Linked DNA regions of Homo sapiens: region 1 is linked to region 2. Evidence: promoter capture Hi-C in 16 types of primary human blood cells and fetal thymus (Javierre and others, 2016). All regions are on one chromosome and are shown on one strand. Each heading gives the region's core, a stretch centred on a gene start or on the middle of the fragment in contact. The rest is flanking DNA. Distances are from core to core; before and after follow the strand shown. Region 1 holds the start of HAO2 (hydroxyacid oxidase 2). Region 2 holds the start of HSD3B2 (hydroxy-delta-5-steroid dehydrogenase, 3 beta- and steroid delta-isomerase 2).

What was found. The method cuts DNA at HindIII sites, captures the fragments that hold promoters and counts their contacts. A CHiCAGO score of 5 or more calls a contact.
Region 1: the fragment with the promoter of HAO2 here is called in contact with the fragment with the promoter of HSD3B2 in region 2 in 2 of 17 cell types (neutrophils and monocytes); the score reaches 9.5 in neutrophils.

The regions. Positions count from the first base shown.
Region 1 is chr1:119,365,330-119,370,535 of GRCh38, forward strand. HAO2 (hydroxyacid oxidase 2) reads left to right here and starts at 3,456. Exons shown (of 8, transcript NM_016527.4): 1 at 3,456-3,573. HAO2-IT1 (HAO2 intronic transcript 1) reads left to right here and starts at 3,617. Exons shown (of 2, transcript NR_046780.1): 1 at 3,617-3,679; 2 at 4,755-5,002. The HindIII fragment of the contact is 4,151 bases long and covers 1-4,040 here.
Region 2 is chr1:119,413,103-119,417,984 of GRCh38, forward strand. It overlaps HSD3B2 (hydroxy-delta-5-steroid dehydrogenase, 3 beta- and steroid delta-isomerase 2), which reads left to right and starts at 2,048. Exons shown (of 4, transcript NM_000198.4): 1 at 2,048-2,100; 2 at 2,229-2,459. The coding sequence starts at 2,318. RefSeq lists promoters at 975-2,101, 1,525-2,242 and an enhancer at 1,815-3,014. The HindIII fragment of the contact is 2,795 bases long and covers 1-2,769 here.

The sequences.
Region 1 (5,206 bases), core at 2,206-4,705, 46 kb before region 2:
TACTGGCTTCCCACTCCCTGCTGAATAAACTCTTGGTTCAGCAGGCCTGAGGCCTTGGCTATATACCCATACCCCAGTTCATGTAACAGCAGGACCTGTGGGCTCAGTTTCAGACCCAAGGACTAGGGCTAGTAGAAGAAAATATAGTTCAATTTATGTGAAAGGGCCAGCTGAAATATCTGTCATTCTGGCAGTGTTCCCTGGTCACCCTAGCCAGAAGCCATCTTGCCCTCCTCTGGTCTCCTATTGGCAACTCTTTGCAGTATTAATTAAAAGCACAATAGTTAAATGTGGACTCTGGGGCCAGAATGCCTGGCTTTGAATTCCGGAATGCCTGGCCTCCACCTCCATATCTGTAAAACAGAGATAAAAATGATCCCCACCTAATGAGTGAAGAACTGCTAAACCCTTAATACACTGCTTGGCACATAGTAAATGCTCTGTAAGTGTTATTAATTACTATTATTGAAAATAATGCAACCATTTCTTGAGCATTTATTGGTACTAAGGGCAATGCTAGGCCGTTTACATGCCTTATCATTGCTCGGCACAGGGTGCTGAGTGTCTGAGCACAGAGGATGTTACAATATTAGGTGACTTTAGGGAGCACATTGTTGCTTTCTGAGTAGAAGAAACTTTCTCTCCTGCTGAAGCCACCTAACTCACAGTAAGTTGTGTTTGATCCTGGATCAACATAAATGCCTTGAAGAATACACACTGTCTCCAAGATGCCAGGGACTCTCACATCAACAGGCTGTTGACAGTGGATCCCACAGCATTTCACACATAGGCACCCATGTCCTCAACCCCGGATACCCAGCAGATTCTGAAATCCTGATTGTTTTTCCTGTGCCCAGCAACTGACTTTCTCCATGATCTTGGGAAGGTGTACAATCCCAGCTCTAGCTACCTAACTCATCTTCACATCCAGAAACCCCGCTTCCTCCAGTCAGATCTGATCTATGTAGCAAGCTCAGCAGCTAGAGGGACACACTTCCTTCCTACTTTAGACCCTATAAAGCGAACACAAACAATGCAGCCCTATGACAGAAGTCATTGGCCTTGGACTAAGGTCTTCAGCAGGCTCTCTTTCAGGTTTTCTTCCCATCTCTTCCAGTAACTGACTCTGCAGAGCTGCCCCCATCCACCGGGTAGCCATTACAAAGAGGTTCACAGCCTATAAGGGGCTTGGTGGCTGCAGAAATACGCAAACTGTCTTTAGTTTGACTTAGCCATCTATGACTGGTTTGGCTTCAGTTTGCAATGACCCAAGTTTGCATTAATTACTTTCAATAGCAAAACCACGGTTACTTTTGCACCAACCTAATATTAACCTGACCACAGCACCAAAGTGTTCATCTTTAACCCTGATGGGCTTGAGCACAGACTGCAAAGTCCTGGGCTCATCCTGACTTCCAGAATTACCTCAGGAAAAATAGATGGCTGGATTAGGACAGGACCACAGTGATCAGGAGGACTTAGCATGTTTTTAATCCCCTCCATTAAGAAGAATTTTGGCATTCTATTCTACTGTGAAACTACATTTGCTTTCTAAGAGACTAGGTCATGACAGCTCAAGAATGACCCGACATTTCTCTTCATCCAAAATAAGCAGGCATATTGCTCAATGGGTACCCTATGACCACCTGAATAAAACCAATATCTTTTCATAACCTCATCCTGAAACATTCTCCAAGCCTGCTGGTGGGTCCAAAGCTGGTCTGTCTTATCCATGGACCCATTCTCTGGAATTCAAGAGGTGCTGCAAAAATGCTGCCTCAAATAGCTCTGCCTGTGGCCCTATATCCCCTATTTGAGATTAGTTCACTTAGGTGCAAACATTAGAGGCTGATATTAGAGTGTGTTACCTTGTAGAGATGATGTTCTTTAACTCAGTGCAATCATCAGATTTAAAAGGTCTCCAAGAAGGTCATTATTTCAAACTTGAGAATCTCTCATGAGAAGCTCTACTGTTCTTTCTATCTACTGCCAGCATCTTTTAAGTATTAACTCACTTACTTCTCATTACAGTGTGGGAGGTATTATGAGGAAACTGAGGCACAGAGAATTTAAGTAACATGTGGATGTTAGTGAGTGAGTGGCTGCAGTTTGGAGCTTGAGCACCATGTTCCAGTGTGTGCTCATCACCAGGCTTCCTTCTGGAAGGGAGAGACAGAGTCGGAGTCTGGAAAACAGCAAGGGAGGGTCTGGATCAGGGGACTGTGAGCAGGCCAGGTGTTGTGAGAGCTGACCGAGGACATGGCCTAGAGGCTGATTATGGAGATTGTGAAAATTGCTATGGAAAAGAAATTTCCAGAACCCAGATTTTGGCTACTTTTGAAAGCATTTTTGAGGTAATACTGTCCTCTAGTGGCTAGATAGCAGGTAGGGATTACCCTCCAAATAAATAGCCAATGAGCCTTGAGTGGAGATGGTATGACAAGTCAGTGGTAAATTCATCATTTTGCTCTCTAACTACAGGTTCTAAAGGAAAGGCAAACCCCACTGCTATGGTCATCGGTACAGCTCAGGATTTCGGCCTCCTCTGCTCCGTGTGTTGGCTACAGGCTAGGTTCAAATCCCAATTCTGCTCTTTACTGCTGAAAGGCTTTGGGCATGTTCGTTAATCTCATTTTCTCTTCTGAAAAAGAGACAATCTTGAAAAGATTGACCTTCCGTGAAGATCAAATGAAGTAATGCGTGTAGTGTGTCTGGCACGTCGTAAGCGCATCACACACGTGAGCTGTGGCAATACTAAGGAGCAGTGGCAAGAGCTGGGGGAGGAGTGGAGACGAACAGACCTGGACAAATTAGTGACCTTTCTGGGACCCCTACAGAACTCTTCTGGAGAAATTAATTCTATTTTTCCATGTACTTTTAAGTTTGCTTTTCCTAGCATTTCTTCTACATTCCTGAATAATTTTCCACTCAAAAATTTCACTGGTTCTCCCTGACTCCCATATTAATCTAGACATAATTACTTCCCCAGAACAGTTCTGTGGGCAGGGAGGGCTCTACACTATGCACCCTCCAAAATCCCCAAAGCTCGGACCGTCCTGGCCTGGGTCCCCACTGCTGTCCTGCCCATGGGCTCCCAGGCTGTGCTTGCTCTTCTCCCACCCCAACCCCATCACCACAAAAAGCCCCTCCTCCAACCCGGGGACTTTTGTAATTTCCTACCTGAAATCATCCACTCCCTACCTCTAACAATCTGTGATGAGCAGAGGACAACATCAAGTTTGAATTTAGAGGTAGGGAATGGGTGATTTCAGGTAGGAAATTACAACTTCACTTTGAAGTTTAATTTTGTAATAAACTTCACTTAATTTTGAAGTAAATTTGCAAAGTCAGCAAAATTCTTTCAAAGTCAACCTTGCTCTGGCCTAGTTGCTTATTTACTGCTAAGCTGGATGTTTTCATTAAAAGATTAACTTTGAGACTTCAGCCTCTTCTTTAGCCTGAACTGTGGGTAGTGATGTGGTGTGTTTCCTAACACCTCCGGCAGTGAGCCAGGCTTTGAGTGGCTGCGTCTAAACACTTCTTTCCCTGAGGACTGGAAGACATTAGAATAAGGTTTGTCATTGAGTGTGTTCTGTGTGCTTGGAACTGAGAAGGGTGATGAAGTGCCAGATAGGATGGGAATGGAAGATATCGTGGAAGCCAACTATGAGTTTGCAAGGCAAGGACCTTGGCAAAGATGGTCCTAGGGAGACAGGTGTTAGGGAACTCAGAGGGCATGGGCAAAGGAAGATTTGGTTTCAAAAAGGATACAGACAGAGAAGGTTAAGTCTAGGAAGTTGAGTCTTAGAATTGTATGGTGGAATATTCGTGGGTGTCCATAGGAGGAAAAATGGGTTAAAATGTTTTCACTTGACAGCGTTCTGAAAACCTAAAAGGTATTGCTATTGCCTTCAGGGATATATTTAGTATTCTGACCACTGCTTCCCGGCCACAAGCAAAAGAAAACAGTGACATGGCTATGCTCCTAAAAAAGTAAAGAAGTTAATGTGTCTCAAACAATGTAGTTCCTTTGAGCAATAAGCTTATTTGGAACAAATGGGTTACAAAGTCCCACTAATGAAGAGCCTCTGATTGTGTTAAGTTGAATCTACAGATCAACCTGCGGAGAACTGCCAAGAACGCTAATGAAGACAGGGAGGTACTGGTATAAAGATAGATAACAGATCAATGGAACAGAATAAAGCGTCCATTAGCAGGAAGCAAAATCCGCAAACTTTTATTCTTAACTACTACTATATTCTGCATTTTACAAGATCCTTCAATTCTCACAAGATCCCTATGAGATAGACAGTAATAACCTAATTTAAAGATAGATGAGAATTGGAGCTTGTCTAGAATAGATTGAGTGGAACATCACTTGTGGTATATCATTTGAGAGGTAATGGGAATATTGCCAAATTCCCAGGTAACTCTCCCCTCAAAGGGACTCCTGTTGTACTCTAAATCGTATCAGCTATCAAATGATGAGCTATGAAAGTCTGTCTTCTTCGACTGTAAGCTTCTTGAGAGCAGAAACTGATGTGATAAAGGTCCCCCCCCATATCTCTAGTGTTTAGCATAATACTTTGATATATTATGTTAAATCAGGCTATGTTATAGTAAAGAATAAACCTTAACAACTTAGTGAGATAACACATAAATATTTATTTCTTCCTTACACAATATCAGCTGATCTCCAGGGCTACCCTTTTCCAAATGGCGTTTTGGGAATCCAAGTGGCCTTTCTCTTACAGCTTTGCCTTCTTGAGGATGGAGGATCGCTGTAGAGGAGGAAACAAAGCTGGAGGGTCACATACCAGCTCTTCAATCCTTGGCCTAGAATTCACACCTGCTATTCCCACTCCCAGGCCATTGGCCAGAAGAACTAGTCACAGAGCCATGCCTGTATTTAAGCAACAGCGAAATGTTAAGCATGTGGGGAGCAGTATATGCCTCCGCCACCCTGGCTGAGAGTGTGTGTCAATAAACCTTCTTGGATAAACTAATGAGTAAATCTGACAGAGGGTTTAAATTATACTATGACAGAAATACTCAAATCCTGAAGCAGCTTTCCACTTCCAGAGCCTCAGATGAAATCACACATGTCATCAACAGGAGGAATAATGAACATGGAGCTGCCTTTATTAACAATCTAGTCTATACAAGGCACTGTTCTAGAAATTTCAAAGGGGCCATACTGCTTAGT
Region 2 (4,882 bases), core at 798-3,297:
ACTCCAAGAGACACTGCCTGAACTCTAAGAGCCTCCAGAACTCTCAACAGCTGAAGGAACATTTGGTCCCACCCTGAAGGTCATGGGGGTCTGTAAGGTGCACTCCAGCATCTGATATGGCAGGCAAAGGTGTGTGATGCACCTGGGTGGTTTCAGATAGTGCTCCACAAGTCCCAGGGCCCGTGTCTAGTTCTGAGAGCTTCAGAAGACAAGCTGCTACACCTTGCATCACAGGACCAACCTTTCCTAGGCAAGTGGGTTTGAAGCATTGGCAGCCAGGTTCCAAGTAGAAGGTGAATGTCTACACACAGGAGAAAGGCAAGACCCAGAATGGGGAGTCAAGCTAAATCATTTGTAGAGTATGACTTCCAACAACTTCAGAAAGCATTCTTTTGAAGTGCTTATGGCATTTCCACCAACATAGACCATAGGCTGGACCATAAAACAAATCTCAATATATATCAAAGAATCAAAATCATACAGAGTATATGCTCTGGCCACAATAATATTTAATTAGAAATACATAACAATAAGAAAATCCCCAGTTTTAGAAAACATGCAACATGCTTCTCAATAACACTTGGGTCAAAGAAGACATCACAAGAAAAAATTCAAAACGTCAGTAACTGAATAATGATAACCCAATGCATCAAAATGTTGGATACAGCTAACATAGTGTTTAGAGAGAAATTTACAACTTTAAATGCCTATGGTGGAAATGAGCAAAGAAGTAAAGTCAATTATCTATGCTTTTATCATAAGAACCCTGAAAAAGAAGAGTAAAATAAACCCAAAGTTAATAAACATTTAAGCCAATAATAAAAATAATGAAAATCATGAAATAGAAAAATGAACAAACAATAGAGACAATCAGTGGTCAATTTTTCTGTACTCCATGAACAAAACTTCAGTTCAGAATGATTTTATATTTAAATATATATCCAGAATCACAAAGATCTTAGAAGAAAAAATTAGGAAAATATAGGAATAAAGTGGGAACTCTGTGGGAATAAAAATCAGAAAGTAATTGCCTACCAGGTAAACTCGGGGGAGGGCAGGCAATTGACTAAGAACAGGCAGATAAAACTTTCTGGAGTGAAGGAAATGGTGGTCTTCTTTTCGTTGGTACTTACATGGACATATATAACTGTCAAGGTTCATTGACAATGAACACTTAAGTGTACACTGAACGCTTAAGATCTGGGCCTTGTAATGCCCAGATTACATCTACTTAAAAAAACTACATCTCTATTTTTTTAAGTAGAGAAAAGTGTCTTGGGGAGTTTATGGCAGTGATGTTTGGGCAGACTGGGGCATAGGTTTCAGAAGCATTCATAGCATCTTCAGTTCAACAATTTGCTAAGAATGGTTTTGCAGCCAAAAATGTAAGATGAGTGCAAATATCTATGATTAGAGTCATTGGGCATACAACTACAAATCCCCACACTTGTATTACAGGCCATATGATTAATTCGTTATCACTAGATACCTTTCCTTCAATGAGGTTCTTCCATTAGGAACCCAGAGCTCTCCAGGGAAAAATTGCAATTGAGGTTTTGGATATATTGGGTGGAAAAGAAAGTCACCTCACATAAAACTTAGTGATTGGAGCTGTCACCATTGAAAATTTCTAAACTTTGCAAGACAGCAGTGACGTTTCAAATGACACTCTCAGAGAGTTGATAATGGGCTAAAATAGATCTCCCTCCAGGTGGATTTACTGTACAAGGACAACATTTACATTGCACTTGGAGACTTCTCCCAGTTTGGTTTAAGTTCACAGATTGCAGATCCCAGACAGCTGGTATCAACTGACCAGTGTTCTGTTAAGGCTAAAGCCAAGACTCTTTATCACACTGTGGCCTTAAGATTGGATTTCTCTTCCTGTTCCTGGGAAGAATTAGAGATATAACCTAAAGGTCACTATTATTCTGAGAAAAGGGATTCTGGAGGAGGAGGGAGCAATGAGTATGTGGCAGGAGTTCAAGGTAATAAGGGCTGAGACACAAGCCACAGAGCATAAAGCTCCAGTCCTTCCTCCAGGGATGAGGCAGTAAGGACTTGGACTCCTCTGTCCAGCTTTTAACAATCTAAGTTACGGTTAGAGCTTTCTCCTTTTCTTTCAACTACTCCTGGCAGTTGTGGGGTCATGGAATTTTTGTAAAAAATGGGGTGGAGGAAAATAAGGCATCTGCTGAGTGTATAACCATTTTACCTCTTGTTTTTAGCCCTCTTCTGGGTCACGCTAGAATCAGATCTGCTCTCCAGCATCTTCTGTTTCCTGGCAAGTGTTTCCTGCTACTTTGGATTGGCCACGATGGGCTGGAGCTGCCTTGTGACAGGAGCAGGAGGGCTTCTGGGTCAGAGGATCGTCCGCCTGTTGGTGGAAGAGAAGGAACTGAAGGAGATCAGGGCCTTGGACAAGGCCTTCAGACCAGAATTGAGAGAGGAATTTTCTAGTAAGTAAACTTGAGTCATGGGTCTGTGGCTCCATCTTAAACTCTGCATGGGTGTGGGGAGGTTGACCTTGTCTAGCAAGTTAAGGAAAGTTGTAGCCAAATGAAAGCCAGTCACACATCTAAAGTCATCAGAAAGGAAATAGAATAAAATGGTATAGTGTGAAAGATACTGGATGGGGTGTCCAGAGACTGGATTCTGGCCCTGACGCAGAACTTGAGAGGCAGCCATGTCAGCCTCAAGGCCCCTTTTCTTCTCTTCTAGAGAGTCACACATGAGTTCTCCTTCTTGTCTACAACTCTTATGTTCTGAAGCTTTTTGTCTTGGCGATTGCTGTGCGACATTCACAAAGGACATCATTTACCTGGAGACCTCACCAGTGGGTCCTGCCTGTCTAGACTGCCCCAGGCTTCATTTCATTTTATAGCTTCCTTAGTATCTTTAGTGAGGGCAAAATAAAAGGAAGTGAAGGTACGGATGTGTGTGTAATTGTGTGTGTGTGTCAGACAGAGAAAGAAAATGAGGGGGAAAGAAGGTCAGAGACAGAGAATGAGAAAGACAGAGAATGAATGAGAAAGATAGTGTGAGGGAGAGCATCAGCAAGAGAGAGAGAGTGAAAGTGAGAGAGATCATCAGTGAGAGAGAGAGAAAGAGAGAAAGAGAGCATGCACAAGTGCACGGCACAGAGCAGAGACAGAGTAAAAGGCAGTATGAGGCCAACATGCCTCATTTATATTTCTCATATATAGCCTTTTTAAAAAAAAACCATTTGTATCTGTTGTTCAATACTCCAAATAAATTGACTGCAGAATTTGCTGTAGTAACTCTTTGTGCAAATAACCCTGTGAGGAAGGTAGAAAAGGGGTCACCTCCAACTGGACAATGAACCCATCAAGTTCCAGAAACATAAAGTTACTTGCCAAGAACAGCTGATTAATGTGTAGCAGAGCTCAGACCAGAGCTTCATTCCAGAAGCTTCATCACTTGACCCCCGGGCTAATCCTTGGTGGGTCTTCAGTCTCTCCCTTTGCCTCTCTGTGTGCCCCAAACCAATTCCATGTTTTCCTCCCAACCCAGGGGACTGGGGGAACTATGTATCTTCTTCATGCAGGTTCTGGCTGCCTAGAAGGTCCTGCCCTGTTCACACAGAAGCTCCCCTTGACACTCTCCTCTTCTTTCACTCTTCTCTGACCTCTTTAAATGTCCAATTTCCTCCACTCTCTGTTCTAATAGTGAACAGATATTAACACATGACTGATATTAAATGTTTGTAATCCTTATGTCTCAGCAATATTTACAATCTAACATCTGATACCAGGAAAAAGCAATGCTCAGTCTAGAGGAAGAGTTCTGCTATGGTGAAAATGCAGGGAGCATAATGGATGGGCAGGGCCTGTATGAAGATAAAAACAGAGAATCCTTTCAGTGTTCTTTCTGTGCCAGGCACTGTGCTAAAGGTTTTGCATGTGCTGACTCATTTACTTCCCATAACAACCCTATGAGATGGGTAATACTATTATCCTCCTTTTTTATAGATGAGGAGACAGACACAGAGAGGTTAATCAACTTGTCGAAGGTCCCAAGTTAGATTACGGCAAAGCTGGATTTGAATCCAGGCAGTCTAGTGCAGCTTCTGTGCTCTTAAGTAGTAGTTTGTCTAGCAGCTTCTCTGAGCCTCCCTCCAGCCCAACACACAACACAAAAGCAACTGAATTTAGTCTACATGAAACACTTGCCAAGTCCACAGTGCCTTGGAGAAGGAGGGAGCTAAGACTCCATCAAAAATTGCGCTTTTCTGGTCTCTCTAGATCCATGGAAACTCACCGGGGAAGAGTCATTTTCTATCGGCTTTGGACTTCTGCTATGAAATGGCAATTCCTTTGAGCCAGTCTGTCTAAAGTCGGCAGCAAAGGAGAAGCAGATGAAGGGAGTAGAAAAGGTAGAGGTGGAAATACAACCAGAGAAAATTCCACTCTCGGGCTGACACCCACCTCCTCCCCAGCAGCCTCTTCCCTGCCTCCACCATTCCAGGGCCTTCTTGGAGTTGCCTGACAGTGGGAAGGGGCTGGGAGTAGACAAAACAAGGCAGAGGCATCAGAAGAGCAAATGGTCCCACCTGTATCCCAGGAAGGAATTTCTCCAGCCTTGAATTTTTCATTCTGAATTTCGCTCTCACTGTTCTTTGGCCTTTGTGGGCATTTTCAGTTAAACTGGCTTATTCTTACTCTTTCTCAGAAAAGTTGATTCTAAACAGCTATTCCTGCACCTGGGGTACAGGGTACAAAAATGGCAGGTGGAATGGGCAGGTTTGAGCCTTCACTAGAAAATTGACTTTAGATCTGTCCCTTAACCTCTCTGAGCCTCAGTTTCCTCACCAATAAAGTGGGACTCAGAATACCTACCTCACGAGATAGCTGTAAAAGGA